Linked DNA regions of Homo sapiens: all the other regions are linked to region 1. The links are contacts of gene promoters, found by promoter capture Hi-C in blood cells and fetal thymus (Javierre and others, 2016). All regions are on one chromosome and are shown on one strand. The core of a region is centred on a gene start or on the middle of the fragment in contact, and the rest is flanking DNA. Distances in the headings are between cores, read along the strand shown.

Region 1 (7,537 bases), core at 1,203-3,702:
CTCCAGTCCCCATATAAAAAAATTAATTCCGCTTTGGCCGCCGTGGTACATGTCCCTGAATTTTAATCAGGCTTATGACCCAAGCACCACCAAATCACACGGACAAGACCTAAATGCCAGAAGGAAAATGCACACTTTCTGAACTTCCTCACCCCCGCCAAAGAGCTTCCGACGCATCTCCATCTTCCTTGAACCCAAGTTCTAAAAGCCTTCCTTTAACTACAGTCTCTCACTAAGAATAAGAATTTAGATCTCTTCCAGAAGAAATTTAATTAACTCTACTTATCAAATTATGTCCCACAAAACCTACAAAATAGCTTTAATTTCAAAGGGAACAACTCATATAATAAACAAAGAAAAGTCCCAAACATATCCTGGAACATACAAGAAAACTTGTTCAACCATCCTTTTTATTACTTTTGCTACCTGACTGTGCTTAGAAAGCACAGTTTAAACACACACACACACATTTGGCTGAATCAAGAAAAAAAAATGAAATTGCATAATTAGTCCAGAAATTAGCAAACAACTTACTTTTAAAGTCAGGGTGTTACAACAAAAGCCCTGTGTATAAAAACAGATGTTAATGCCTTCAGATTTGCAGGTATAGCACACATGTACGAGATCAGAAGGAGCTGCACCAACAGATGGAAAAGATCATCTTTACTATGAACAAATCCAAAGATTTTTCAAAACGAACTGAGAAAAAAGTAGTTACATTTCTTTGTAGAAACTGTACTTTCAGAATATTAGGAACCAGAGGGGCTTTACTGAACTCCGAAAATTCTCATCTAAACTTTGATCCGTTGCAAGGCAAAATGAGTTTCATATTGAAATTAATTCAAACTTTTAAAAATAAAGGCATACAGCGCTTAAATAAAACTCAAAAGCTTTACAGGTTCAACGTTTTTTTTTAAGCCTTTTTAGAAAAAGAGAACCTTTTTTTTTTTCCTGGTTCTGCCTTACCTCAGCCAACAGAAAATACTTTGTTTCAATATAATTTGATATATTTCTGTTTTCCCACTAGCTTCTATTCTTGCAAATATTCATCATTGCCCTTGTTTTGTGATGAGGGAAAGTGAAATGGAGGGAGGAGAAAGGCAAAGATGTACAAAGGGTCAGAATTCAACTGCAGTGGGTAAACTCCTGAAAAATAAAGAAGACCCGACTTCCCCTTTCCTGTGACCAGAAGCAAGCCTCCACACCACCCATCTCAGCAAGTGCATTTTGGGAATAGATACACTTAATTTAATATTCAGAAATTACTTCCTTTCTTCTTGTTCTTCTACACTTTGCCCAAGACAGACTAAAACTTTATCCTAACCCCAGACACATTCTGCAAGATGCCACTGCTAGAATAAACTAAGATTTACAATACAATCACTTTAAGTGCCCCACAGCTAACATCAATCCTAATCCTTGAGAAGGCTAAAAATAAAGATTGGAGGGCAGCTCACAAGGTAGCCGTGATCAAATTAGGAGGCTGAGAGGACAGAGAGGGACGAAGAAGGAAGCTTATAAACATCTGATCCAGCTGACTGTGGCCATATGGCAGCTGCTGCCCAGATAAAGAGATTAAGAATAGAGGAGTGCGATTACAGCTGTCTGGCCAATTCAGGCAGCTCAAATCTACAAGTTCTAAATTAGTCGCTAACACAAAAACTCCTGCAAATAATTATTGTTATGCTGAAATAAAAGATCTCTTAAATATATATTTGAAAGAGAAATGAGGAAACCAGTCAAACTATTCTCCTGGGGACAAAAGTTTGGTTTTTTTTTCTTCTTCTTAAAAACCTGCAGTTTCAACAGCACTACAGCTGTATGTTTCAGTAGTGCTGCTCAATGTTTTGAAGAATAAAGTTTCACAGAGGAATTAATTATACAACAATCTAGCTGCTTAACTAGAATAATCTTCTCATATAAGTTTGAATGCTGGATTCCAGTTTACTATTTCCCCACCACCACCACCCCAATCAAATCTAAATAGCAGTGAACAACAAAAAAGCATTTTAATCCAACGTGATTTCCAAAAGCAGCATTTTAAAGCCTTTCTTAACATTTCAAAACTTGAAATATTTGTGTATTAAAGTTATTTACTCGCTCAAGTAAAAGGGATAAAAAATTAAAACTAAACAAGCTCAAGACTTTCAACTCCAGTAAGATGTTCATTTAATACTCAATTTCATATATTATTCCTAAACTGGGTTAGAAAAGTAATGTGATTTTTAAAATTAAATAAACAAAACACCAAAACAGAAATATGCTCAATCTAATCTCTTGCTACTCCTACCTTTAGGACACATAAACCTGATTAAGTCCTTTCCTCTGAGTCCTGCTGGCTCCAGGTCTGTTACATCGGTGGAAAAAAAGCAGACTAAGAGAGACAGATGCAAAGTGGAGATGATGTTAGAGAGGAATGAGATACCTTCTCCACCACAGATCCGCACACACTAACTCCCTGTCTGTGTGTTAGAATAAAAGGCTGAGGGATGGCAGGCTGTCAGCTGCTCTGACATCATGTTCAGATGGAAATGCTACCTCCAGCTGTGCTCCTTTTAATGCCATATGCTACTCCTCTACACTCCTGCCACCAGCTTTTTCTTAGGAGAACTTTTCTCTTCTGTTAGTATAAACAAAATACTTCAAAGTCTTCCTTTTTTTCCAAACTTTCTAACAGAAGAAATTGAAAAACTCAGCATATGGAGTTCTACTGTATTTATGGAATAGCAACACTTCTGTCTTAAGTTGGTGGACTGGCTTACATACTGACAGCACACTCAAGCCACGGTGCTATTCAGGAAATCCAGATTCACTTTTATTCAACTCCAACGTTTAGTTTCTAAAGCAGTTTAGGGATATTTTTAAACCAACCCATTTGACATCTCCAGTCCCATTTCAACATTATTACCGCACTTTTTTATTTTTTTCTGCTGAGATAATGGTATACATGTCTCAAATGTTGGCAGACTTGTTCAGAACTATTACTTCAGACTGGTTCACCTTATTATTTCACTCTTATGTAATTACTTATCTACAACTACCTTCTCAGAAAAATTTCTTACACTGCCACAGTCAATGCAAATTTCAATTCTCGGTACCAACAAGCTGAAACTGCACTTTCTGAAATCCTGGAAAGTACTTCAGTTCAACGAGACCAATTAATAAACTGATACAACCTGCTCCAGTCACTTAAAATGAATGCTGCACCTGCATATCTGATCTTTCTGCTCAGAAAAAGCAGAACCTTGCCTTCCCCTTGATCTGTGTCCCTTAACAATCTTTTTTTTCTTTGGGGGGGGGTCACTCTAATGTTTATGATCACAAGAAAATCTTTGTGTGGGGGGAAGCCAGGTCTAGTAAGTTTGAGAACTTTTCAGCCAGTTTGTGGGTCTTTTCTAATAGCTGATGAAACTGTAACGCGACCCGGGCTGGGCTGACCGGTACCGGGCAGGGTGCTGCGACATCTCTGAATGTCAAATACATCTCCTCAGACTCTTGGGAGGGCGAGGGGTAGAAAAGGAACTGGGGCCTGAGGCGCCAGCGTCCCAGCCCTGGTGATAACCACTTCGTTCCCATTAGAAAGCCGTGGCGGAGAGTTAAAGAGTAACAAAACCCGACGACTCCGTCCTGTCCTTCTCGCTTTCCCAAAGTCACAAACCTAACTTTCTCCAACTTCGCGGTGAGTGACATAATTATGAACACTTAGTCCAGGAGACATCCTCGGGAGATCAATTTCTTCCCAGCCACACCACCTATTCTCCACAAATGCCCTCGACCCATTCCAATATATCAGACATTAATCACCCCATTTACCCAGTGGGGTGGGGGGTGAGTGACAGTTTAATGAGTCCCGGGCACCGCAATGGGCCAGCAACTCCCACTCCACAAATCAACCCCTTCACGTCTCGCTACCGCGGATCCATAGAGGTTTTGTGAGGTTGGGGTTTTGTTTTTCAGAGAGGTGGGGGCGGGGGTGCCGAGTGGGGAAGCAATGCAAATCTTTACGTAGTTCGCCGTGCATAAAACACACGGGGAAAGAGGAAGGTTAAAACCACAGGGAAGGAGGTGGAGGGCGCAGAGCCGGTGCAGCAGGAAAACACCTTAAACAACAGAGGAGAAAACAGACCCGGGTCACGGCAACAACAAAAGAAAAGTCGTAAGAAGCAGCCAGCGGGAGGAGAGTGGTTGCTACCGCTTCCCCGATGCCGCGACGCGCGAGCCCCCGGGGCCTCCGGGCAACTGCACCAGCCCGGGAGGGCCCCCTCCCCCGCCGGCCCCCTCCCCCGGGCGCCACTGCAGCTGCACCGGTCCCCGGAGCCGCGGCCGTCCCGGGCGCCACTGCAGCTGCGGCTGCTCCCAAGCCCCCTCCCCCAGCCCGCCGCCCTCCGCACCCGAGAGGCGCCACCGCAGCTGCACCGGCCGGGAGCCCGCCCCGCGCCGCAGCTGCACCGGCCCGCGGGGGCGCGGCGCGGAGCCGGGAACCCGCACCCCGCCCGACCCCGCAGCTGCAGCGGCCCCGTCCCCGCGCCCGGGCCTCCCGCAGCTGCGCCGCCCCCCGCCGCCCCAACAGCTCCAACCACACAAACTAACTCCACTCGCGGGGGCGCCCCCGACCCGGCCCGCCCTCCGCCCGCGCCGCCCAGCCGGCCGGGGCCGCACAGCTGGCGCCCCCCGCCCGCCGGGGTGCCGGGGCGCGGAGGGGGCGCCAGGTCAGGGGCCAGGGGCCGGCGCCGGGACTCACACGGAGCGGCCCTAAGTCACCGCGTCCCCGCCGCCGCCGCGTCCTCCGCCTCCTCCTCCTCCTCCTCCCGGCCGCCGCCGCCGCCGCCGGACTTGGTGGGCTTCCTCCGGCTCTTGCCCCCCTCCCTCCCGGCCCCCCCACCCCCCAATCCCGGCTCCGTCGCCCGCTCCCCCCCGCCCCTCCCTCCCGCCCACCCCCGCTGGCAGCCGGAGGAGCGCGGCGGAGCGAAGAGGGCCCCACTCTCAACGGCTCCCCATGGCAGCAGCCCAGCGGCGGCCGCAGCCTGCCAGACACAGCGAGGGAGCGAGCGAGGGAGCGAGCGCGGAGCCGCCGGGCCGGGTGGGGGGGCGGGGGCGGGGGGGGGGCGGGCGCGGGGGAGGGGGAGGGGAGGGGGCGGGAGGACGCACCACGCACGCACGCGGCGGCGCCGGCCAGATGTTCCCCCCACCCTCAGTCCGCCCCTCTCCTTCCCCTGCCTCCCTCCCTCCGGGCGTTGGGCTTCTGCGATTGACCGAAAGCGGCTGGACCGGCGCTCCCCGCCCGCCCCCAGCCCTCAGACTCCTCCAATGGGAAGGCGGCTCTTCGGGAAGGCGGAGGGGGTGGTGGGCAGTCGTCGGACTGACAAGGGGGCCCAGCCAATGGGGGTGGCGAGCCGTAGCTGCCCTCCCGCGCGTTCCAATCGCAGGCAGCAACTGTTGGGGTGGGCGGGGCTCGGGCGGGCGGGGATCCGGAGCGAAGCGGCGCGGGGCGGAGTCCTCGGGCGCAGCGGCGGTGGCAGCAGCGGCGCCCCTCTGGGTGACTTGGCCGTGAGAAAGTGAAAGGAGCCCGCAGGCGGCGGCGACAGCTGCGCTGGGAGGGGCTTGTTTCCAGGCTCAGAGGCCCCGCGCACTCTGCGGGTGCGGAGCGAGCTTTTCGGTGTGCACTGTGACAACCACAAACACACTTTTGAACGTAGTGGGGCTTGGCTGCTGCGAGTTACGCAGGTATCCTGGAGAGGCAGGGCACCCGGGGACACGGATGACTCGAGGCCGACTTCGGGTGGCTCTCTCTGCTCCTTCCTGTGGGGGTGAAGACGCCCGGGTCCTCGCCGGCCCGTGCGCAGGGGAGCGGGACCGAGGAGCGCTCTCGCTCCGTCCTGCGGCGTCCCGCGCCCAGGTGCACATCGGGGAGCTGGGGACGCAGGCGACTCAGGCAGTTTCTGGGAGTCGTTCTTACGTCATCATGTCACGGGCAGAACAGGGCAGAGCGCCCGCCTTTCTCGCAAAACCCTCCTGTCCCTTGTGTACTTACACTGTTACAAGTAAAGACTTCCCCAAGTGACCAAATTTTAGAGCATTACAGTAAAATTGGTACTTGCAGATGCCTCAGCTTGATTCCTTAATTGATACGTATCTAGCCACAACTTTAAACTACCGAGGGACGATGTAAGACTGCTGTGTCGCTTTTCTTTCCTTCAAATAAACTTTTACTCGGTACCTGTTCTTGGCAATTAGACTGCGTTAATCACAGCCACAAAGACGTGGAAATGTCTGCCGTCAAGAAATTGGAAATCGTATCGAGGCAAGAATTACAAGTAAAAAGTTGAATAACAAGTGGTGGGGGAGGGGGAATGGCTGAAGAAAATAAAATAGAAAAAAAAAAACAACTTCATAGTGAGGAAGTCAGTCCACTAGTCATTGTCTAATGAAATGTGTTTATTCTTTGCTAACAGAACCCAGACTGGCAAGCCTGTTGCTAACCAACCTGCCAGGAGACCTTTCAACTGGGCAAAATGTGCTTTCACTTTGTTCCAGGTCAAATGGGTAAAGTAGCTGGAAAGTATTGTGTGGGCAAATCAGACATGTTGAATTGCTAATGAAGTAAAAACAGGAGCAGACAGAATTCCTGGAACTGAAATAGCTTCGAGATATCTGGTTAGAAACAGTAGTGATGTGCCTACTTTTTTCTCAACCCTCTACGCCCTCATGATTCATCACTGAGGTCAAGGATATCCTATGAAAATTGGAGTTTTTGTATTCCATGAAGGCTTTTGTTGTATCTGTGCTGTCGATGAATTCTAGGTCTTTTCAGTCTAGTGGTAGAAGGCCCAATTTCAGTCTGACCTGTTTCAAGGTAAGGAATAAATGTTATTCACGAATGAAATATACAGGCACACAAAATGAGATGTGAAAAGTATATGTTTCACCAACTAATTCAGGGAAAAAGAAATGTTTGCGTTATCAAAGCTGTTTCTCATCTACTAAAAGTTAAAATTAAGGAGAGTGACAGATCTCTACATGAGTAGACAGAAAGTAATTGATAGTGTCAGGATATTAATTCATGAAAATATTAGTACACTCGGATTATCTACAAAAAGCTTAGAAACTCAGCTGTACTGCATCTAAAGCCAAGGCATAGCTCTAACAAAATGTTTTATAGAATGTACCTGCAAGTAGAGTAACAGCCCCAAAGATATGGAGGAGACATTGATACATCAAAAATTGTAACCTGTGTGTGTATGTGTGTGTGTGTGTATTGTGTTTCCCTTACAGTCATTACTAGAATCCATTTTGGGAACTGAGCAGTGTGGCCAGGAAATATAGATTAAATGGATATTTAAGGAAGCAAATCTGTTGCCCCTCAGTTGCTACAACCATTTTATCCAGAGTCCCCTAGTGTGACTGTCTTTTATGCCCTTTTTTTCACATTTAAATAAATTGTTTTTACTCTCTTGTCTTAAACTGTTTTATAAACTTATCGTACAGATGATACTTTCAATCCTTTGGAAAGTTATCACCATGAAAATTGTGAGTAAAA
Region 2 (7,537 bases), core at 2,562-5,061, 690 kb after region 1:
ACTCCTGGGCTCAAGCGATCCTCCTGCCTTGACCTCCCAAAGTGTTGGGATTACAGGCATGAGCCACTGTGTCTAGCCAGGTTCTTATTTTCTAGAAGGAAATTATGTCAGCCATGTACTTGACATTCCAATTTAATGAAAGAAAAAATCATTTTCCACTTAAAATGTTAATATATAAGACTAATTTTATACACATGTATATTTACATATAATATTTAGATATATACATCTATTTTAAGATATACATATATATTATATTAATATTATACATGAATGCATATATTAAATATATGTAATATATTCAAGTTGACTTATAATGCTATTTAATAAAATAGCCCTTAGTACATTAGTAAACAAAAGTACCAGGAAGAAACTGGGACTCCTTCCTTTCTTCCCTGAGACCAAGCCATGATCCCTTCCTTGGCAGAAAAGCAGAAAGAGGGTGACTGGTGAAGATCACCCACTGTTTCTGAGGTGAAAGTCACCAGTGTAAAGGTACCTTTGACCTGTGTTTGCTAACAAATTGGCACAATTTTTTAAAATAGCAACTCTAAATTTACTTTATGTAAAAAAAAAACTACACCTAACCCTGACCTAATCCTTCTGAAAGCACTTCAAAAGGATTTTCTCATGCTACACTAGCTGTATTCAAATCAAAAATAAACCTGGAGTTGCTTCTTTCAAAATGAACTGCAAAAAACCAGGAAAACAATCTTTTCTGGTGGGACATCTCCATATAAAAAAAGTAGTCTTTCCAATGGCGAATAAAAATGAAAAATCTAAAAAGTATAAAAGCTGGTAGATAAAAGAATTACCAAAGAAAAATTATCTTTAAACAGTTACCCAAAATGCAGGAAAACATATCACAGCATAATAAAAGGAATATTCATTACAGTTATTGACTTTTATTACCATTTGACAATAGTTTTTTTTGCCAACTGAGAAAAATCATCCAAAAGCAAAAATAAAATATAATAAAATAATTCCAGTTTAGGAAAGCAAACTGTTAATTTATTCCCTTAAACTATTCCTTCCCAAGCTCTCAATTCAATACAATAAATATTTTTGAGCACATACTATGTGCCTGCTATGTGCAATGTGCCAGACATTATACATATATATATGATCCAGATGGCCAGATAATTTTATATACATGTATATATACCTACATATACATATGTGCACACACATATACACACTATATATGAATAATATCCAAGCTATTTCACTCTTCACTTTCTTTTGTAACTATTAAAATATTAATTGATTCCCTATCATTTTGATAAAAAACAAGTGCAAGTCCAATGACACATCTAAGGTACATCATTTCCTCCTCAAATTTACAATCATCTGGGCTACAGTAAATAACAGAAATTATTATGATACTCTTATTTAGTTTTCATAAAAATTTACAGCAGGAAATTATAAGTATTAATATTAGGGCTTCAGGACTCAGTAAGTGAAGTCTAAACATCATTTTCACATTATGTTGTTATATTTTGGGCTAATTATATTCACTTATGTCTAAACATTAAAGTTATTAATTACTCAATAGAGTAATTGCATTGAAATTATATTGAAATATAAGATTAAAAAAACTTGGTCACATTGCCCACTACTAATTACAGTGGTGTAGCTCCTGCACCATTCCCTATGTGTAGAAATATGGCTAAACACAAGTAAAAACCAAGACTAAATATAAAAACCACACTAAAGCAATTTTAATAAATAAGAGAATGACAGGCACTTTCAAATAAGATACAGATGCTTTCACTATCTATAAAAATAAAATAAATTTAAATGAACTGAAAATATTGCTATTCATAAAGTTATAACTGATTTTGCCTTAAGAAAACTTCATAAGTCAATTTAAATACAAGAAGTTTATTATTGACTTCAAGTTTAGAAAATATCTTTTTCATTATTAAATGTATTTACAATGCTCTCAGATTCTCATCATGAGGTTAAAAATACTTAAAAACCAACAAGGATGCCATTCATAATCCTAAATTAAATAAAGTTTTTGAAACAGTTTGTTCAAAATTGACACTATTACCTTAAATGAAGAGCAGCCTAAAGGTCATTTCAAAATGGAATTTCAACAATTTTCTATACTTCTACATATGCTTCAGATGGAATATTTTCCCAGATACTAAAATTACAGGAAAATCAACATACATGCAGGCATACTCTTCAAAGCCAAAAATTTTTCAGTGTAGATATAAAAGTATTGACAACTACAAAAGTCACAATTTCCAAAGAAAGCTGGATAATTAGTCTGCTACTATTGCCATAGTAAATATAGTTTTTTAGATATGGTATCTGCTACTAAAAATTATTGTGTAAAAGAAATTGGCCCATTTATTCTTAACCAGAACAAAAGGCAATTTTTGGCAAAATTATTTTGTCTCTTAGATGGTGTACACATTTTTATTACTTTTCTACTATCACAAATTAAAACTCTTATACCAAATGGTACTCTTACAGAAACTGTCTAGAAAATAATCAAATATTCTGATTGCTAAAGGGAATATAAAATGAAACTTTTGGCTTATTTTGTATCTAACTTCCAAGACTTCGATGTACAGTATTTACTTAGCAAATACAATTTCTGTTCTTTAAATACTGTGCTGCTTATATTTTTTTCTAAAGTGTACTCCTATCTAAATGGTCCCAAAAACATTTGGGAGTAAACTTCCCTGTGAAGATAAAATATTTTGTTTCATAAAAAACAAAATAGGCCTTTAGGAAAAAAACATGCAGTTAGGGACACAAGACACCTCAGTCATCATCTTAATCTATCGCCTCACTTTACAGGTGGGAACGTGGGATCCAGTGAAGTTAAACCACTCGCTAAGCCCACTCAACTGTACTAGAACTCAAGCTCCAGACTCTTCGCCGATACCCATTTCCCTTCAAATGTGGAATAATGCCAAGCCACAACGCTAACTCAGTTACAAGCATAAATAAGCTTCTATTGGTAATAATTAACTTTTCAATGCAATAAAGAAAACATATCGTCTGTTTCTCCTCAGACAACTGTTAATCAGCAAGAACTTTTTCGTTTTGCTCTTTTATTCTCTTATTAGTTCTGTCAATCTCTGACAACTAGAACAAATGTAAGACTTATTCTTTTTTTTTAAGCAGCATCTTAAAGCCATACATACTATTTCTTAATTTAGAGGAAAAAAAATGCATTTTCTTAGGTTTGGTTTTTGTCAATATTACTGTTTGGTATAGGTGCTAGGACAAAAGAAAATGTTTATTTTCTCTCAAACCAAGAAAACCTCAAATGTTTTTCCAGTTCAAACTAAATGATTTTGTTTTATAGGAAACTGTATTTTAATTTTTCGCTAAATGAACTTCAAACAACTGAGAAAAGGAAGTCATATTCTTGTAGTCTGGATCACTTAATAGTTCAGACCATGGAATACAGCTCCTCTTCTTGCCTATACAAACACACCGGCTCTGGCTGAGGTCACCTCTCTCTACCTACCTACCTACCCAGTTTCTGTTACTCCTTGGTGTACCTAATTACAGAGAACATCAGTATGAATGCTCTGGTTCCCAAATCCTAAGGAGAGTAGCAGAGGTAAAGCATTACTAAAAACATACCTAAAGCATTCTCACCTATAGGCTCTTACTAACATTTATGCTTGGATGCAAAATATTCTGACCACCCAAACAGCATGTCTGTGTTCAACTTACCTTTAAGCTGTTACTCTGCTTGTTGGTGACACAAAATAATTCCTCTTCCACTGGAAAACTGGACAATTTAACCTTATTTTGTTGGAAGGTTTTCACCAAAATTAATGACATGTTCTTATGTGAAGAGGAAACAGCAATTTTAACAACAAAACTAGGTTTATTTATAGAGACATAACTGATTGAAAAAAAAATCCTTCTGTACTGAGACATGGTGTACGTGATCTCACCTTATGGGGAGTTCTTAGAAAACTCACTTTAGCTGTGGGTTATGTAAATATTTCTGTAAAATTCTATTTGAGGAACTTAAGAATTTATTGAACTTGGTTTTAACTCAAAAATAACCTATATTTTCTAACTAATTTTAGCAAGCAGCACCAAAATGTGAAGTAGATTTTTAGCTAATATTTTGAGTGTGTTATTTTAAATTAACAGCTTCCACATACAAAGGAGTAAACTCATCTCTTCAATTTATTGACAATCCATTCTATTCCTATGTATGTATACAGCTTTTCATAGTTTAGAAAACACTTTCACATACATTACTGAATTTATATGCTGTGATAATTAGAAAACTAGCAAAATTCCTGCTTTCACCCATTTTCATAAAGAAAAATAAAATAGGCATAGAACAGAGAGATATAGGGTAAATGATTAGGACAAAAGACTTTAAAATGGAGAGTAAGTCAATAGAATGAATAGGAGAAATCTCAAAAAAATGATTTTAAGACTCAAATTTCCAATTTAGCCCATTTATCCAGGTTATCTAGATGAACAAAATGGAATTTCAGACAGCCCCATTTCAATTTTGACCTCTCATTGGGAGTTTCCCAACACGGGTTTATATCCTGCCAAACTACAAATCTGCTCCATATTTACAACGGCACTTTGATTTCTTAGCCATCCATGCCCGATTTCCTCATTGCCCACCATCAAGGCAAGCTTCTGTCACATGGTTCATCGGTATCTAGGCAAGCTACTTACACACAGTAGGCATAAAAATAATTTTTTTATTTGACTAGAATTATTTTGAAGAAGGCAATGGTCTGGTTCTTAAACAGAAAAATAAACATGATCTGGTTCTTAAACATCAATTAGAACAAATCACATGGAAGACAGAACAGCAAATATCAAATTACAAGGAAGCTGCAGGTCATAGGCTCTGTGATGCTCTCTGTGCTATACTATTTAGACCACTGACTTTAATGAGGATGCCACCGATGTGCTGATCAAATGTGTCTGTGACACAAACCTCAGAGGAAGAATTTATTATGGCAATATGTTGAAAAGAGGATCCAAGAGAGCTCGGACAAGCTGACACGACAGGCCCAAACGAAAATGACCAAGTTCCAGACAGGTAAATGCAAATGTCTATATTCACCACCCAGTTGTAGGTCAGCAGATGCGTGCCATGAGGGGTTTTAATTGAATTTTAAGCTCAATAAGAATTTACAATGAGACATATTTGATAAACAATAAGGCAAATGATAGTTGGCTCTGATGCTAGATTAACATAAGCTTAGGCAATAGCTCCACTGCTATGCACTGGGCAGTTCAAACTAGCAGTCTCATATTCAGTAATCATCACGACTCTGGAAAGCAATGTGATAAAATGGGACACAGATGGGAGAGAGATGAAGGTGGAAAAGCTAAGGATCACAGTATTAGTAAAACTAGTAATTATTAGTGTGTATTGAGCAATTATTACATGTCATGCATTGTACTATGAGGTTAACATAGATGACCTAAAATTTTACAAAATCCTATAAGGTAGGCATTGTATCTATCCTCATTTTACAAAGAGGAAAACTGAAGCTTGCACATTTTCAGTAACTTGTTCAGATTCATTGGGTAGTGGGTAGTAAAATGAGAAATTTACTTGAGGCAGTCACTTGGCCATCTCTTCACCTACCTATCCATCCAGTTACTGTGTTACTTGAGGCAGTCACTTGGCCATCTCTTGACCCACCTATCCATCCAGTTACTGTGTTACTTGAGGCAGTCACTTGGCCGTCTCTTCACCCACCTATCCATCCAGTTACTGTGTTACTTGAGGCAGTCAACTGGCCATCTCTTGACCCACCTATCCATCCAGTTACTGTGTTACTTGAGGCAGTCACTTGGCCATCTCTTGACCCACCTATCCATCCAGTTACTGTGTTACTTGAGGCAGTCACTTGGCCATCTCTTCACCCACCTATCCATCCAGTTACTGTGTTACTTGAGGCAGTCACTTGGCCATCTCTTCACCCACCTATCCATCCAGTTACTGTGTTACTTGAGGCAGTCACTTGGCCATCTCTTCACCCACCTATCCATCCAGTTACTGTGACCCTAATTGCAATCAGGGCACTGGGGCACTGAATACAAAAGAGAATAAGACAAGTAAAAGTCTCTGTCCTCAAACAACCTACATTTTAATGGAAGAAACTGATTGTTTAAAAGCAAATGAACAATAAAATAATAAAAAACTTATAATAAGCTCCATGAAGGAGGGGAATGAGGTGCTGTGAGAGAATAACAGAGTATACATTAGTAGCCAGTGAAGTAGAGACATTGAATTGGAAACCAAAAGAAAGAAAAAGAGCTGGTTAAGCAAAGGAAGAGTGGGAAAGAATATATGTGGAAGATGTTTGTCCAAAGGCCATGGCATGTCTGAGAAGCTAAAGGCAAACCACGGAGGCTCCACTGAATGGACAGGGGAAGGGTGGATGAGAAGAGGGTGGAAAGACAGGCAGTGGGGAGATTATGCAGGGCCTTATAAACTGTAGAAAGGAGTTTGGACTCATGTTTCTAAATGCAAATGGGAAGCCATTCCAAATTGCTAAATGGAAGAGCAATGCAATGCAATGCAATTCACGTTTTGCTTTCGCAAATGTGTTGAGTATGAATAAAGAGGGCATAACTTTATGAAGCTAAGGTTGTGATAAGGAAAGATGATAATAAACAAATGAGTAAGATATGGAGTAAAATAAAGCAGAAAGGGGGCAGGAGTACTCGGAAACTGGTTTACAACATAAAACAAGGTAGTCAGGAAAGTCTCACACAGATGATTTCAGCGATGACTTGAAGGGTTATTTTGTGATCCACAGGATATCCCAGAGAACCCGGCGAAGAAAAGAGCAAGTCCAAAGGCTCTGAAGTGGTCGTGGGGGCAGACTGGTTAGCACCTTGCTAACCAGTGACATAAACCTGAGAGGAATAATTTATTATGGCAATATGTTGAAAAGAGGATCCAAGAGAGCTCGGACAAGCTGACACAACAGGCCCAAACGAAAATGACCAAGTTCCAGACAGGTAAATGCAAATGTCTATATTCACTGCCCAGTTGTAGGTCAGCAGATGCGTGCCATGAGGGGGTCACTGTTTGACTTTGCCTTTGACTGCTACTGAGGTAGGAACCACTGGATGGTTTCAGAAGGGTGACAAGATCAGACATAGGTTGTTTTTTGTTTGTTTTTTTGTTTTGTTTTGTTTTGTTTTGAGATGGAGTCTCACTCTATTGCCCAGGCTGGAGTGCAGTGGCGCAATCCCGGCTCACCGCAACCTCCACCACCCGGGTTCAAACGATTCTCCTGCCTCAGCCTCCCGAGTAGCTGGGACTATAGGCACCTGCCACCGTGCCTGGCTAATTTTTATATTTTTAGTAGAGACAGGGTTTCACCATTTTAGCCAGGCTGGTCTTGAACTCCTGACCTCCTGATTCACCTGCCTCGGCCTCCCAAAGTGCTGGGATTACAGGAGTGAGCTACCTCACCTGGCTGATGAAAGTTTAACAGACTTTCTCTGGCCCTTATGCTGTGAAGGGGCTAGATGAGGAGAAGCAGGGAGC
Region 3 (7,537 bases), core at 1,544-4,043, 630 kb after region 1:
TTTCTGTCTGCAGCTCACGATATGTTCCTAGAACTAGTAGTTTGCAAAGCTCAAAGAGTAAACTTACAAGTTTTCTGTTAGTTAGGAGATACATTTCTGGCATGATTATCCTGTGTCATATAAAAGGATAATTGACTCTAATCCATTTTCATAGAAAATTCAGGCAATTTCTGGCTTTACAGAAGCATGAACTTTCCCCTGTATTTTTATATACCAGTTATGTTGCATAATTGCATTTGCATGAAATATATTTTACTACTATAATTCGGATTAAAATGATAATTGCTTTCAAAGGGAAATACAATATCTTAATTTTTTATTCTTTTAGGTTCTAGTTTGACTTTTGGTAACAATTAGCAGAGGCCAATATCAGTCTCCTCTTGTAGAAAATATAATTTTTATAGTATCCCAACCTAACATCATCTAAACATGCAAAGGAAAAAAACAGTTCAACCGGGTGTGTGTTCTTCACCTCAATTAAACTCACACAGTTGGATACCTACTGTTGCCAAAACAGTAATATAATTTACACATTATAGTCCACACAGTAAAACTACACTAAAAGTCATTTAACAATATTTATAACACCATAAAGTATAGTGTTAAAATATATGAACTGCAATATGTACCAAAATTATAAAATTTGTTTCTCATCATCAGTGATTAAAACCGGGATCATTGCTCTAGCCTCAATACTCACAACCCTGGTGACAGATTAGAATTCAAATCTTAATGATCAATTTACAATTAACAAGATAGAAGTGAAACAAATTAAACCAACCATTATATATAACGAGACCCCATGGACTCCCATTGTTCCTCTTAATTACAAAACGCAAATCACAAATACACAATGGGCAGTGTTAGACATCAGTCCACAAGCCTCACAACCCAGAAAGTGACAATGACAGAAAAGAAAGAAGCAAAACCACATAGACCCTGGTTCTATGCTCTATCCTGTTCTTTTCAGTGTGCAAGAGGTGGAAGCTAAAACCTAGCACACACTTCTCTCCACTCTGTGGCTGGCAGAGGCTCACTCCCTGCCAGCACCCAATCCTTCCAGCTCTCCCAGGCCAGGTGTTAGATAGCACTGCAAACCGCACTGCAACGTTTTACTGCTGATTCATCTAAGCGCGTGGGGAGAGAGAACACTTCCTTCACTTTGATAAAGAAAAATCACAGTTGTACCGAAGATATTTAAATAGCTCCGTTTACCTCCTTCAAAAAACAACCCCATAACTATAATAAGCTCTCAGAGTACTGGGGAATACAGAAGGAAGGATAGCGAAAGTTTATGTGAGCTTCAACTAAAATCAGCCAGAATGTCTGCCTGGTGCCAATTAAAAGCAAAATGGAATTAATTCTCTTGCCTGATGGTCAAAAACAAGCTATACAACATGCACAGAATCGGCAGTTCATTTTAAGTTTTAAAATGGGACGTGCCATTCACAAACCCCGGGGTTACAGACACCACTACGTGCAGTGTGGAGTACACAGAGCGCGCAAACTACTGTGCTAATCACTATGGAGGCTTCCAGAAAACAGAAGCAGTCGTCACTGCCATAATGCGACTTACGGTCTCCTTGGGGAGAAAACACATACAACAGACACACACACGGAGGTACCATTTCAAAACATTTTCACAGAGCAACAGAGCAGCCTAGCATGAAGCTGGGGCAGAGAGTAAGGGCGTACGTGCACGCCGAGCCCATGCTCTCAGCTTTCCCGTCATTCTGCATGGGCTTCAGTCAAATGACTAGATCTGTGAGTTTAAAATCTTGTTTTAAATGGTAGGAATCTATTTGTTTAGTTGGTATTTTGAAAAACAAGACTCTTAGAGTAATGTTGCTAGTAACAGAGGAAGGAAAAATATGTCTTAATTATTGCTCAATACAAAATAAATACACTTACTTTTCAAGAAGAATTTTACTGTAATACTCTGAGGAAAAGCTGGACCAAAATTACCATATGGATTGCATAAGTATAAATTTGGAGACTGAGTTTCCACAATGACAAAACTTTAGAAACTCCAAGATTTTCCTTACCTCAAAGCACAGGGAAAATTATTTATCCCAATAGTTTGGCATGGGGTATGCAGAGGCACACTCCTGGAGGGCTTCTTCAGAGTTTACTACATTAATAATTTGTATTTTAAAAGAAGCAGTTTAAGCCCTTCAAGTTTTATAGGTGGTTTCAAAGCAGAAGGTAACATCAAAATGGAATGTAAAACTTAACATGAATGAGTTATTGAAAATGTCATAGTAAGAAGCCAGGGAGAAATGAAACTGGAACTAAAAGAAATTAAGAACAAACAACCCTAAAATCAAAATTTGTCCTATTCACTACCTTCTTGTGAGGCACACAAAATGCACTTTTCGTAAGTTTTAGGGGCGCTTGAGAGTTTTAAAAATAGTAAGTAACAATTTATCAAGTGTTTACTACTTGCCAGGCCTTGGTTGAGTCAAATTGTAAACTTAGAGTAGGTGCCTGCTTTAATTCATCAGAGTTACAAAATACAACTAGATCCACATTTTCCTGATCTGGCTGTTTTAAAAAGGCTTTCATTGTGGCATAGACTTATGTCCGTCGGAAAATGACAGTCAGACTTTCCCTGGCAAAGACAATAGCTATGTAAAGTGATACCCAAATTACCAGTCAAGACCCTTAAAAATGCCACCAGTGAAAATAATAGCAGCTACTGTGTATTACTATGTGTCAGGCACTGTGCTAGGCACTTGATACGTGTATGTATGCGTATCTATATACACAATTCTAATTCCCATAACAATCCTGCAGTGTGGCTTTAGAAATGTTTTTACAGAAGGAGAAGCTGAGGTTTGGGGAAATGAGGCCATGTACCCAAGGTTACAAAGCTCCAAGTGGGAGAGTGAGATTCAAACCTAGTTCCTCTGAATTGCCATGTGTTCTTTACTGCACACTGTCAGCCATCAACAATGGGACAGACTGGCATCAGAAGTCAGATCAGGAGGTGCGAATAGCACCACACCTATTTGTTTCATTCATTCATCATTTATTCATTAAATGCCATCTATGTCAGATACAAAAGAATACATCCAATTTACAAAGTACTGTTCAGGAGCTGGAGGAATGAGAAGCAGGAGGAGCAATAGAGGTTCTGAGTTAGACCAGTACAGGCTAAGATGACAGATCTAGAGGAGGAAAAAGAGGGCCTAGGGGCACAGAGTAAGTTAACCGTTACATGCCAAGGACGCTTACTTCTCCACGGAAATTTAAAGGTGAATTTTTCCTTCCCAAACTTTCTCATCATAACTACTGTGGCTTGAATTTTCTTTAGCAATAGATGTAAAATACTGTAATTACCATAAGAAAGAACGTATACTTTGGAACCAGAAATACCTATGTTAGAACCGTAGCTCTCCCACTCACCAGTTATTTAAACAGTTTTGGTTTCCTTATCTGGAAGATAATAATTCCTGCCTCAAGTTGTGGTGAGAATTAAATAACATACCAAGCACCTTTTTGTCTCTTTTATATAATAAATTTCCCTAATTAGGTCTCCTTGGAGAGCAAGATCACTAATCATTCACAAACCAATTTTAGACCTAATACATTTATATAAAACCCAGATTGATATCATTTTATCCCTAAATGATACAATCTTGTTTGTTTGCTTCTAACAAATTACTTTTGGATCTATGTGGTGCAAATCAAGTATTTCTGGTTAAGAATAGCTACTGTTGATATTTTATGGGTCTCTTTCATGACAAAATCATTTGGTTTTCTTGGTCAAATTTCCTTGAAATATCTGGTATTTTGGCACCTAGGTTTTCCCCTACCAAAATACAATCTTAGTATACGCTAGGAAGGTGCGCATGTCAGAGTACATTCTTGGTGGTTACAGGAGCCTCTGCCTTCCTGGTGAGCAGGGAGAGTTGGATGCACGAGCCCTCTGATTCCCCAAAAGATTCAGGGATGGGGGTTCTATCAGCTAAGACAGCTTGTTGATGCAGGATTCCAAGATGGAGCTCAGAGTGATCAGATATGCCCTGATACTCCCAGAAATCCTTCCCGAATGAAACATCTAGGTCAGTAGTTTGTTTGCTGAGCCATATTTCCTGCTCTCAATAGATCTATGTGAGTTTCAGAAAAATGCAGAAAAGAAGACACACAGGCAATTTTTTCATTGAGTTATCATATAAAGTAGTATTTGACATCTTATCAGTTATGTGAATATTGCCTTCTATAGTTCAATTTAAAGTGATTCTGTCCAATGTCTTTCATTTACAAAAGAAGAAACTATAGTCCAAGTAGGTCAAATACATTTGTCCAAGATTATTCAGTTACTGTCGGAGCTGAGATGGGGAGTCGGGCTTCTTGCAGTTTAGAATATGAAATAATTTATTCATTGAGATAATCTGACTAGAAAGTGTATAGAAAAAAGTCATTAAGATTCCAATCAATGGATTTATAAAAGAGTAGTATGCTATAAAATGAATGATGGCTGTTCTATTAAAATATAACAATTTTAGGAGAAGGGAAGAATAGTTTTGGTTTATTTATTTCAAAGTACCATCTACTTTCATTTTTATATATACACATTTCATCTGTTATCATTTAACCTAAAGACAGCTTTTGTGTTCATGGTGAATTGTAACAATAGATTAAAATGTGTTAACCATACCTATGTAAGATTTTATAACTGCTTGATTTATCTGCATGTTTATGTTATTACCATATTGATCCTTCTTTCCTGAAATTTCACAGTTTTCAATTCTAAACATTGAAATGTCAAATAATAGTACATACACATAACCATGAAAAAACATAAAAGCGTATAGACAATTAAGAAAATGTCCATATGTAGAAAATATTTTCAAAGAAAACATCAGCAGATACCTAATTTTGACATTAGACTATAAAACAGTGCAAATGATGTTTTTTAAGGAAAAATTAGAGTAATCACACAAACAGTGCTCTTGAAAGTATTCTATAACATCACCTACCTGGTTTTTTGAGAGATTTGTTCCAGTTTCTTGGCTAATGTACAGCATTCTTCCTTTAACTTTGTCAAAAATGTATTCTGGGAGGTCAGCAACAAATACTGTTCATTTTCTAGAAATAACAATAAACCCCCACCAACATAAGATGTTTATGGTTGTCGCTCTGCAGTGCTTCCATACATAGAGTGGTAAAGTGCTTAGACCCCTACACATTTCCAATAAGCCACTAGATCACCTTCAATGTCCTAAGTCAAAGGACTTATCATCTGGAAAGACACTCAATCTTGGGAGTCATTTATTTTCAACATAATTATACACCAGAAACATTTTTCATCATACCAGCTTGGTGTAACATTTTAACATGTTAATAAAGTGTCAAATACCTCAAGTGGAAGAATAGATGCTTATATCTTTGCAATATGCAAGATATTATATTTTTATTTTGACAATTTTACTATAAACAGAGTGTCAAAAATTATCACAACCAGATAACTCAAAACTAAAATCATCGAGGAATTCTCTTCTACACTGTAATTCATGCTTTGTTTCATATTTGCACACATGGTTTACTACCACCACCACCCCCAATCTTGCATACACTTCTCTAATTATGAAGGTAAAAATGTGTATTTTCTTTAGAATTTTAATTTCATTGTCAACAGCATGAGCTTCAATGGAGATCTGGTCAAAGAAATTGAAAACAGTGTGATTTTGTGTATGTGTGTACAAGACAAAAGGAAATGTTCTTAAGGCGGTTTTAACAGTTAAATACATTCTAATCTAGTGCTTAGATTCTGCCCAAGACTCTGATCACTAGGATCATGCTAGCAGTGGGGGCAAAAACAATAATTTATCCTACAATTGCCTCTTTTTGTTTTTAGAGGAAAAACTTCTACTAAACCTGGTGAATTTTCGTTTCTTCTGGCCAAATGCTGTTGGAAGAAAATCTCTACTGAAAGTGATAGAGGGAATTATGTGAGTCAATATGACATTTGCCTCTTCATAAGTAAATAGATTATTTAATGACTTGCCTGTTGGCAATTTTTCACCCATAGGATAAGAAATAATTTCTTACTGTGTCATCAAATACAATATATTAATACATTAAATCATATGAAAATTACCTCTAAGCATAAGTTTTAAGAGGCCTTTATTTCTTTTCAATTTTAGCCAATGATTGGCAAAAAGCATATAGCATACAAATCAAAATAAATCAAGGCACTAAAATTAAGCAACATTTTTCTGGAAGAGACAGGATCAATTAAACTTTTGTTTTAATAGTACAATCAGTGTGGAGTATGTGGTGTGGAATTATAATGACTGACACTGTCTTGTTTTGACTAACACTGTCTGTGAACACACAACTCAAAAGTGAAAGAAACTACATAATGCTCTGACTGAACAAATCAAACTGTCTATTTTCAAAGTGCATTTTACTTTCAAATTAAAGGTAAAGAGTTACTGGCCAACTCAGTCTGCAGAATAGTGCCAATGTGATGAAAGATGGCAATTTTTAGCCAAGCTGCCAGCTGTGGTCAGTGCCTTGTATTAGTGAATTTTAACAGCAGTTGTGAGAACTTGAAGAATGCAAAGGATTAAACATCACTCTAGATTGGGTTGGGGGAGGTGGGGAAATCATACAAATGCTAAAAATGTTCGAAGCTGCAAAGATTAAATAAAGGAACATATCAATTTGGAGCCACTGAATTACATCCAGCTGCGACAGTGAATTAAGAACCGATTAATGGCTAAAGCTTTTCTCCAGTTTGGATGCTGAAGCAAACTCATTAGGCTTTTAGAGTAGCTATAATGTGTGTACTGTGGGAACTGTTCAATGCTATTCAGGAGACTCTAACTGTAAGCTCAGAGCATTTCCCGCAGAGCTTCTGATGCTATTTTCTTTATATAACATGTGTGCCTGAAAACCCAGCCAAAAACAAGCCCTTTGTTTTTCTACTTTGTTGTGGTCTCTCTCAGCTTTACGTTTCTTGAACACAGGTAAATAAACTCATAATCCAGATGGTGCAACAGATGTGAGAGCAGCACTCTGAAATCAACAGACAGTGGGCAATACTTTCCATTTTCTCTTTTAAACGCTAACTAATATGTAATTCGGAATCTCCGGTGTAGTTAGCATCTGCTCCCTTCGGCCAGCCAAAGGTTACAGGTGTTCCTGATGTCATTTCACAGTAAGGCGTGGGCCTGACTTGTGAGCTAGTGCCCAGGCTCTAATCTTTCCCTACCACCTACCAGTTTTGTCATGCTGGGCCTCCATTTGCTGTATCTTCTGTGTCAGCTCCTGCTCTCTTTGCTGGGCCTGAAGGGCTTGGGCCTTTGCTTCCTTGCTAAAGCTCTGCTGAATGCTATCTTTTTCCTGTCTGCAAAACAGAGAGGAGACATACAGAAATTTAATCTGCAGATGCACAAACCCCCATCATGTCCCCTATAGACCAGAGAGAGCTGATACGTAGTAAATTGTTAAGCATAAGAAGACAAGGACCTTTCTAATGACCCTCCCCCACTTTAGGGGGAAGATCCAAACAACCTTCCATACA
Region 4 (7,537 bases), core at 2,914-5,413, 550 kb after region 1:
AATATCCAAAGCAGATATTGGGATAGGAAGGTCTTGACAGGTCTCTTTCCTCAGTCTCAGCCTCTGAGAAAGTTTCCATTCTTAAATAGAGCATTTGGCATTTGCGTACCTTTAGAGCAAGTAAATATGTTATTTTGGAAGTCATAGAAATAAGAAGGCTCTAAAATGTCAAGCCAGGAGTAGATATTTTACTTAAGAAAGCTAAAAGTGAAATCCCAATTTGGGACATGGAGTGAGGCTGAAAAAGCCCAGGACTCAGACCTGGGGAACCTGCCTTGTGTCCTGCCTGTGCCCCTTACAGTTCTGGGCGATGGCCGGTCACTTTGTCCCCTGGAAAAGCAGGGAGCAGGGCTGATAGTCTCTCAGTGGCGTTTTTGTCCTCCCGTGTGCCTGAGAAGCCGTCTCTTTAGGAGAGGCACCGAGAGTTCTGCCAATTTGAATCACCCTATTTTCAATTCTGCTCAAGCACCAGATTGGCTAGTCCATAGTGTTACTGTATGCTGTGGGCCAGTCCATTTAGGGGGATGATAGGCCCAACGCAGCAAGCACCTGGCTGCAGGGGTGGTGTAGTGGAGGGCCGGCGGACAGGGCTGACTAATGCGATGCTCAGAAATGTGAGACTAGAAAGACCAGAGCAAATCAAAATGGATTTGGGTACAAATAAGGTCAATTAGAAACTGTTGTATATGACTCTTAGGCTAGTCAGTCATTTTTTCATGATTGACTTGAATTTCAAAGCCCTAGCTTTCAAGGACCAGAATCTCTTCGAAATTCATCTTACCTGCTTTATTCCTTACTCGACACCCGCGGGGCACTTGTCCTGATGAGAATTTGTCATTAGTGTGCATTTTATTGCTCAATCTCTAGGACTTCTAAAATGAGACTGAAATGTTAGAAGGTGTTAGAAGTCCCCCAGCACAGTTTCTAGAACATAATTTGAACCTAGTTCCTTGGCTTCATTAATCAGCAATATAAAAGCCATCAAGAATGTTTTTCCTGGCATGTCATATTTTACCACTGACAGCACCTCTGTTCTTAAATAACATGTGTCATTTCAGACATGGATCATGCTGTAAAAGCCCTACAACCTTGGTGTCTTTAAATGATAATAGGTTCACTTCTAGATTGAGACAGAGATACCTAGGAAGCCTGTACATTGTAGTAACTTTCAAGATGGTTATCAAAATCCACCTGCAATTGTAGGACCACAAAAGTCTGGCTTTTGTCTAGGCGCAGTGGTGCACACCTGTAATCCCAGCACTTTGGGAGGCCAAGGCGGGTGGATCACTTGAGGTCAGGAGGAGTCTGAGACTAGCCTGGCCAACATGGTGAAACCCCCTCTCTACAAAAAAAAATACAAAAATTAGCCAGACGTGGTGGTGCATTCCTGTGATTCCAGCCACTCGGGAGGCTGAGGCAGGAGGATCGCTTGAACCCGGGAGGCAGAAGCTGCACTGAGCTGAGATCACAACATTGCCCTCCAGTCTGGGTGACAGAGCAAGACTCTGTCTTTTAAAAAAAAAAAAAAAAAAAAAAAAAAGTCTGGCTTTTGTGGGTGTCAGAAATGGGGTGTGGTCCTGCCCTGCTCCTGGGCCCTGGACAGTACGGAAACGAGAGCCCAGCAATGTCATCTGTTTCTGACAGGGCACACCGCAATTGAGGGGTGGGGAGGGCGCTATGGACTTGCTGTGTTTTTCCCTATTCAGGACCTCTGTAGCAAGGAAAGTCAGACGGAAGAGCTCAGCAGAGTATGCCCAGGCAAAGACTAGCATCGACGCATCTGCAGGCACCTCTGTTCAGCAGCCTCTCCTGCTGTCTGTGTGGCTCAGCAGAGCGCAGCGCTCAGCACTGGGGGCCATGGGGCCCTGGGCTTCCTGTCTTAGGGGAGCAGCCTTGATGGTGGTTAACTGCAGCTTCTGGGTTCTTCTAGGGCAACGGGGCAGTATTTTTAGTTTGACAGTTCCTGGATACATCCTAGATTCCCTTAAGGAGCAGATAAAATGAGAATCACTGAAACCTTGAACGGTGATTACATTCAACATAACCTTTTTCTTGCAGCTTTGAATAGTTTAACTGGTAAGAAACCGTTGCAGCTCCCTAAGTGCTAACACACAGAGGTTTTGTTGATAAAAGTCCAGGGTAGTACCATTCGTTAGCAATTGTCTTCCCACTTGCCACCTTGCTTGTATAAAACAGAATACAGTTATTGTTTAGAACAAATCAGCAGTTAGAAAGGCAAAATGTTCCATTTTCTACAAACAGCTGCAGTGACATGCCAGATTGTCCTCACTGGCGTTAATAATGGAACAGATTTGGGAATGTGTCATCTTTCGTTATCGCCATTGATGGTCCTCCTCCTTCCTCTTACAGAAAAAGAGGGTTTCTTTGAGATCTGGTCGCTTTTACTGCCATATAATGCCATTTGTTAAATGTTCTAAGAAAATCAGGCAACTGATGTTCCTTGGATGCAGGGATTCAAGGGATGTAGCAAGTAGAGTTGATCATTGTCTTCTTTTTCCAGATAAGTGTTTTTGAAAAACATAGTTCATGTTCATTATCATCACTATTCCCTATGCACAGCCTCTCACAGCAGGAACTAACTTGTGTACATTGACAGGCTCCGACTCAGAGTCAGCTGCCACTTCCTCCAGCTCCCCTCCCACCGCAGCCCCTGCCCAGGCTCTCAGCTCTTTTAGGGCCATGATCAGATGTTCACGCCTCATTGTTTCCAAGCCTGACAACAGAAAGGGGCAGGAATGATGGAGGGAGATCATTGGCTTTAAAGAATATCAAGGATTGGGGCCCTCAGGGATATCTGTGAAATTTCCTAGATTCAGAATTGTGATGAATGTGTTACTGAAGTGACAGAATGAAGGCTGTCTCTCAATTCTTAGCTGACACCAGCAAGAGTCCCTCCTCTTCCAAAAGGGTGTCTAGCACCTGCCCCTGTTGAGCATCTGGCTAACCTGGGTGCTGAACCTCGCCGGGCTGGAATGAGTCCTGGCCATGGCCCCAGGAGTCCAGGCAGCTCCTGCCCTTCCTGGCTGAGCAGGACAAGCACCAGGCTCCCCACTGCTGTCCAGAGCCAGCTGCAGGTTTGCTGTGCAGAAACACTGAGTAAAATAAAGCTGTTGGTGAGGAAAATTGTTTATTTGAAATGTGATTGGCTCATGTCAGAATCTGAACATTAAGGTTTTAGCTGCCCGTATTCTCTAGAGAGTTTTTATACTCTGGGGCTCAACCACGGGTACACCATCATTCCCAGCTCCTTCCGTTTTTACTGTAGCTAAAAATACTGCTGAAGGTATTTGATCTAAAAGATGTGTGTGACTTGCTTGGTACAAATATTGGAACCAATAACTTTATAAGGAGGTAGAGATTTCCCCAAATCTCAATACCTTCTAGAAATGCTGACTGCAGTTACAGTGGTCTATTTGCAGAAGAAGAGAGGGCCTCCGAGTTCAGTGTCTTACACAGAGCAGGGAGCCACAAATGCTTCTTGATGGATCAGTTCTCACCTAATACGAGGATATCTTCTGGTACATTAGGGGTCAGAAATTTTGGCTAATGCCAGCTTGATCCCATTTCTAGAATCTTCTGCATTAAGAGTGGGATACAGAAAAGAAAAACAGTGATACAAGAATGGAAGTGTTTATTCTTCAGACAAAGGCAGAGCCCCCTCCTCTTCGGAGTGACAGAGTCAGAGCCTCAGTGCAGTGGGATCTGGCCTGTATGCTTTCTTTGTTTACACCCACATCCAGCGGATGCTCCCTGGAGAGGTTAGAATATTCAAAAAAATTGGTAATGTACTTCCTATATGGGTTTGAGGACATCGAATTATTTTGCTTGAAGAGAAAAGGGTTGAGTATTGGAAAGATTCACTGATTTCCATTGCAGGACAGCATATGATTAAACAAGCTTAGAGGCAAGCACGGGGGATTTAAAATGGAGCACCTCCCCCAGGAGACTGTGAGGCCAGGGGGCCCTTGGGACTTTGTTCAAAGTTCTGCGGTCCTTGGGCCTGACGGGTGCTCAGCCCAGAGCAGATGCGTGGGAGCGCATGTTGACTGAGTGGCTGACCACGTGGCCACATACCAGGAAGAGCTTCCAACAGCACAGGACTGTCATCACAGGACATTTATGAGAACAGGGTGCTGATCATCTGTGATCTTTGAAATACAGGAAACCAGGAAAGCTGACAGGAGGAACACTGTGATTGTCAGCGGCCTGTTTTGATGCCTTTCAAGTCTCTTCCATTGTTTCCTGATGAGCTAGGACTCAGATGTTGACATCCTTCCCTCTTTTTCTTTCACTTAGTCCCTTCATGCTAAAGTTTTATCATAGGGAAATTGGGAAAGGTGAGTTAAGCCAGATGCTAGATGTTGAATGAAATTTCATAAGAAGCTTTATTTTGCAGTTGCACTTAAAGCATCACAAAGAAAAAATATAAGCACTTGAAGACATTCGATGATGAATTCTATACAGACTTTGGATGCTGTGGATTTCACTGACTTGCAGTTTTGATATATGTGGTTACATGAAATGAAAGGTTACTGAAGACTGCTCCTTCTTAAAAACTTCTGTTTTCTTCAATACCATTTTTTTCACTGTTTCATTGAGTCTTGAAATTTTGATGTCTTAGAGATGATTCTATAGTATTATTTCTTCATAGACTATGTATTTATGAAAATCAGATGATTTTTGAAGTATAATTACTCTACAGCTTATTGATGAACACAAGTTTATGGGAGCTATTGCCTCTGTTCATCTTTCCTATGTTCAGAGTTTAAAAAACATAGACTAGAGATAATGTTGCAAAAAATGAATGTGTAAAATTAAAATAGATGTTTCCTGCCCACAGATGATGAGGATGGTATGGACTGCATGGACAATGAGAGGCGGCCGCATTTCCCTCAATTTTCCTACTCTGCAAGTGGACGAGAATAAGTCTCTTTCATTCTGCTACTTCACTGTCATCTTCAATTTATTACTGAAAATGATTCCTGGACATCACCAGTCCTAGCTCTTACACATAGCAGGGGCACCTTCCGACATCCCAGACCAGCCAAGGGTCCTCACCCCTCGCCACCTTTCACCCTCATGAAAACACACATACACGCAAATACACTCCAGTTTTTGTTTTTGCATGAAATTGTATCTCAGTCTAAGGTCTCATGCTGTTGCTGCTACTGTCTTACTATTATAGCAACTTTAAGAAGTAATTTTCCAACCTTTGGAAGTCATGAGCCCACCATTGTTCATTTGTGCACCAATTATCATCTTTTGATCTTTTAGTTTTTCCCTCAGTGAAGGCTAAATGAGATACACTGATTCTAGGTACATTTTTTAACTTTCTAGAAGAGAAAAACTAACTAGACTAAGAAGATTTAGTTTATAAATTCAGAACAAGCAATTGTGGAAGGGTGGTGGCGTGCATATGTAAAGCACATCAGATCCGTGCGTGAAGTAGGCATATATCACTAAGCTGTGGCTGGAATTGATTAGGAAGCATTTGGTAGAAGGACTGAACAACTGTTGGGATATATATATATATATATAATTTTTTTTTTTTAAATTCCTGGTGGATACTGTAGAAGAAGCCCATATCACATGTGGATGTCGAGACTTCACGGGCAATCATGAGCAAGTGAACACTGTTCTACCAAGAACTGAAGGCATATGCACAGTCAAGGTCACTTAAAGGGTCTTATGAAACAATTTGAGCCAGAGAGCATCTTTCCCCTGTGCTTGGAAACCTTTTTTCCTTCTTGACATTTATCACCTCTGATGGCTGAAGAATGTAGACAGGTATAATGATACTGCTTTTCACCAAAATTTCTACACCAAGGTAAACAGGTGTTTGCCTTATTTAATTTTTTACTTTCAGTTCTACGTGAATTAGCTTTTTCTCAGATGTTGAAACTTTGAATGTCCTTTTATGATTTTGTTTATATTGCAGTAGTATTTATTTTTTAGTGATGAGAATTGTATGTCATGTTAGCAAACGCAGCTCCAACTTATATAAAATAGACTTACTGCAGTTACTTTTGACCCATGTGCAAGGATTGTACACGCTGATGAGAATCATGCACTTTTTCTCCTCTGTTAAAAAAAATGATAAGGCTCTGAAATGGAATATATTGGTTAGAATTTGGCTTTGGGAGAAGAGATGCTGCCATTTAACCCCTTGGTACTGAAAATGAGAAAATCCCCAACTATGCATGCCAAGGGGTTAATGAAACAAATAGCTGTTGACGTTTGCTCATTTAAGAATTTGAAACGTTATGATGACCTGGCAACAAAAAGTAATGAAGAAAATTGAGACCTGAGTGAAGATAAGAAATGATCTTTACGTGGCAAAATGAACACATCTTGAGTATTTAGGAAATGGGCAGTGAAGGCTAAGAACCTGGTGTGTTTCTTGGGATCATGGTACATTTATCACTGAATTAAGCCATCAGGGAAAAAACAACAAAAAAAGAGAACACCTCCAGCTTTTCTTTTTCTGTATATACTCATGTCCCCCAGATTCCAACATTTCTCACTGAAAGGGGGCATGTATGCAAACCTCATCTTTCTCCTTCATTAATGATGATCTTCAGATTAAACCCTTTGGTGCTAGGAGCTGACAATTTCCAAAGCAGCCTGTGAAGTCCTAGGGGCTGGGGGCCACTCTTGCGGCAAGCAGAAGGCCATCCTACTCCGCGGAGTGATCATGGAAATGTATTTTAGTTAAACTCTGACAGCTCCCAAACGGAAGACTACAGCATGACGTAGTATTATGATTGCATTGTATGAAAGAGCAAGTGACTTTCTAAGTAGGATGAATCATATTCATATGCAGATGTCTTAGCCTCTTGACGCTGGAAGTGTGGATTTATAGCTATGAAACCACTGCTGGCAGTGGGTGGGCCACTGGGACTGACGGGGGTTAAAGGGCATTTTACTAAGGCAGCTAAGACATATTCAGACATCAACGTTATCCTTCTTTTTCATATTTCTACCTGAGTGAAGTTCATCCTTAGTATTGAGTAGGAAGTTACAGTAAATGGTAGTTCATTCTTACTTACACACATAGCTAATCTTTTTTTTTTCACTTGGAATTATGTTGAATGTTTCATTTTGACAAAAAAGTAGACTAGAAGGTATGTTCTTTAAGTTGTCTTGCATCCATTATATAAGAAAGAAACAGGTGAGAGGAAGAGCAGAAAGCTGAGACTGGCTGATGTTCAGAGCACTTACTCCTCTAGAGGGAAAGCATGACACCGAACACTAAGCACACAGCTTTTTGTTGTTTTGGTTTTTTCTCCCGCAAATCTTAAAGTGATTCCCATGACCTTGGCCAAGGACACTTCTTAAAGATTAATGACTGGCACTGACATTGCCCCAGGCGGGCCACTCCTCACACTGGCTCTCAGTTCCCAGCCATGCCTGGGGCTCAGTCACTTCTATTCCACCCTCTGAGACTCCATTGGTGTCACACAAGGTGTCTTCTTGGCTTTGATTTTGAGAATCCCCTATTTTCACTTCCAGATCT

Evidence for each region. Contacts are between HindIII fragments. The CHiCAGO score rates a contact against its expected background, and 5 or more counts as called.
Region 2: a fragment that was not itself captured here is called in contact with the fragment with the promoter of ZBTB18 in region 1 in 1 of 17 cell types (endothelial precursors); the score reaches 7.2 in endothelial precursors.
Region 3: a fragment that was not itself captured here is called in contact with the fragment with the promoter of ZBTB18 in region 1 in 1 of 17 cell types (fetal thymus); the score reaches 8.8 in fetal thymus.
Region 4: a contact is called between a fragment that was not itself captured here and the fragment with the promoter of ZBTB18 in region 1, in 1 of 17 cell types (fetal thymus). The highest score is 8.9, in fetal thymus.

What each region holds. Positions count from the first base shown.
Region 1 is chr1:244,046,198-244,053,734 of GRCh38, reverse strand. It overlaps ZBTB18 (zinc finger and BTB domain containing 18), which reads right to left and starts at 2,452. Exons shown (of 2, transcript NM_205768.3): 1 at 2,291-2,452. The coding sequence starts at 2,303. It overlaps LINC02774 (long intergenic non-protein coding RNA 2774), which reads right to left. Exons shown (of 12, transcript NR_033883.1): 12 at 6,418-6,843. LOC124904570 (a long non-coding RNA gene) reads left to right here and starts at 5,494. Exons shown (of 2, transcript XR_007066975.1): 1 at 5,494-5,724; 2 at 6,138-7,537. RefSeq lists enhancers at 1,176-1,677, 3,394-3,443, 5,654-5,813 and silencers at 3,124-3,213, 5,364-5,483. The HindIII fragment of the contact is 5,583 bases long and covers 1,517-7,099 here.
Region 2 is chr1:243,360,473-243,368,009 of GRCh38, reverse strand. The region is part of intron 12 of SDCCAG8 (SHH signaling and ciliogenesis regulator SDCCAG8); the gene reads right to left. It overlaps LOC124904569 (a long non-coding RNA gene), which reads right to left and starts at 7,218. Exons shown (of 2, transcript XR_007066974.1): 1 at 5,732-7,218; 2 at 3,846-5,617. The HindIII fragment of the contact is 1,676 bases long and covers 2,974-4,649 here.
Region 3 is chr1:243,415,525-243,423,061 of GRCh38, reverse strand. SDCCAG8 (SHH signaling and ciliogenesis regulator SDCCAG8) reads right to left here. Exons shown (of 18, transcript NM_006642.5): 14 at 7,233-7,360; 15 at 4,986-5,094. Among named protein-coding and RNA genes, the nearest start is that of MIR4677, 73 kb to the right of the region's middle. The HindIII fragment of the contact is 7,890 bases long and covers 1-6,738 here.
Region 4 is chr1:243,502,659-243,510,195 of GRCh38, reverse strand. AKT3 (AKT serine/threonine kinase 3) reads left to right here. Exons shown (of 14, transcript NM_005465.7): 14 at 4,862-7,537. The coding sequence ends at 4,947. Among named protein-coding and RNA genes, the nearest start is that of MIR4677, 160 kb to the right of the region's middle. The HindIII fragment of the contact is 486 bases long and covers 3,921-4,406 here.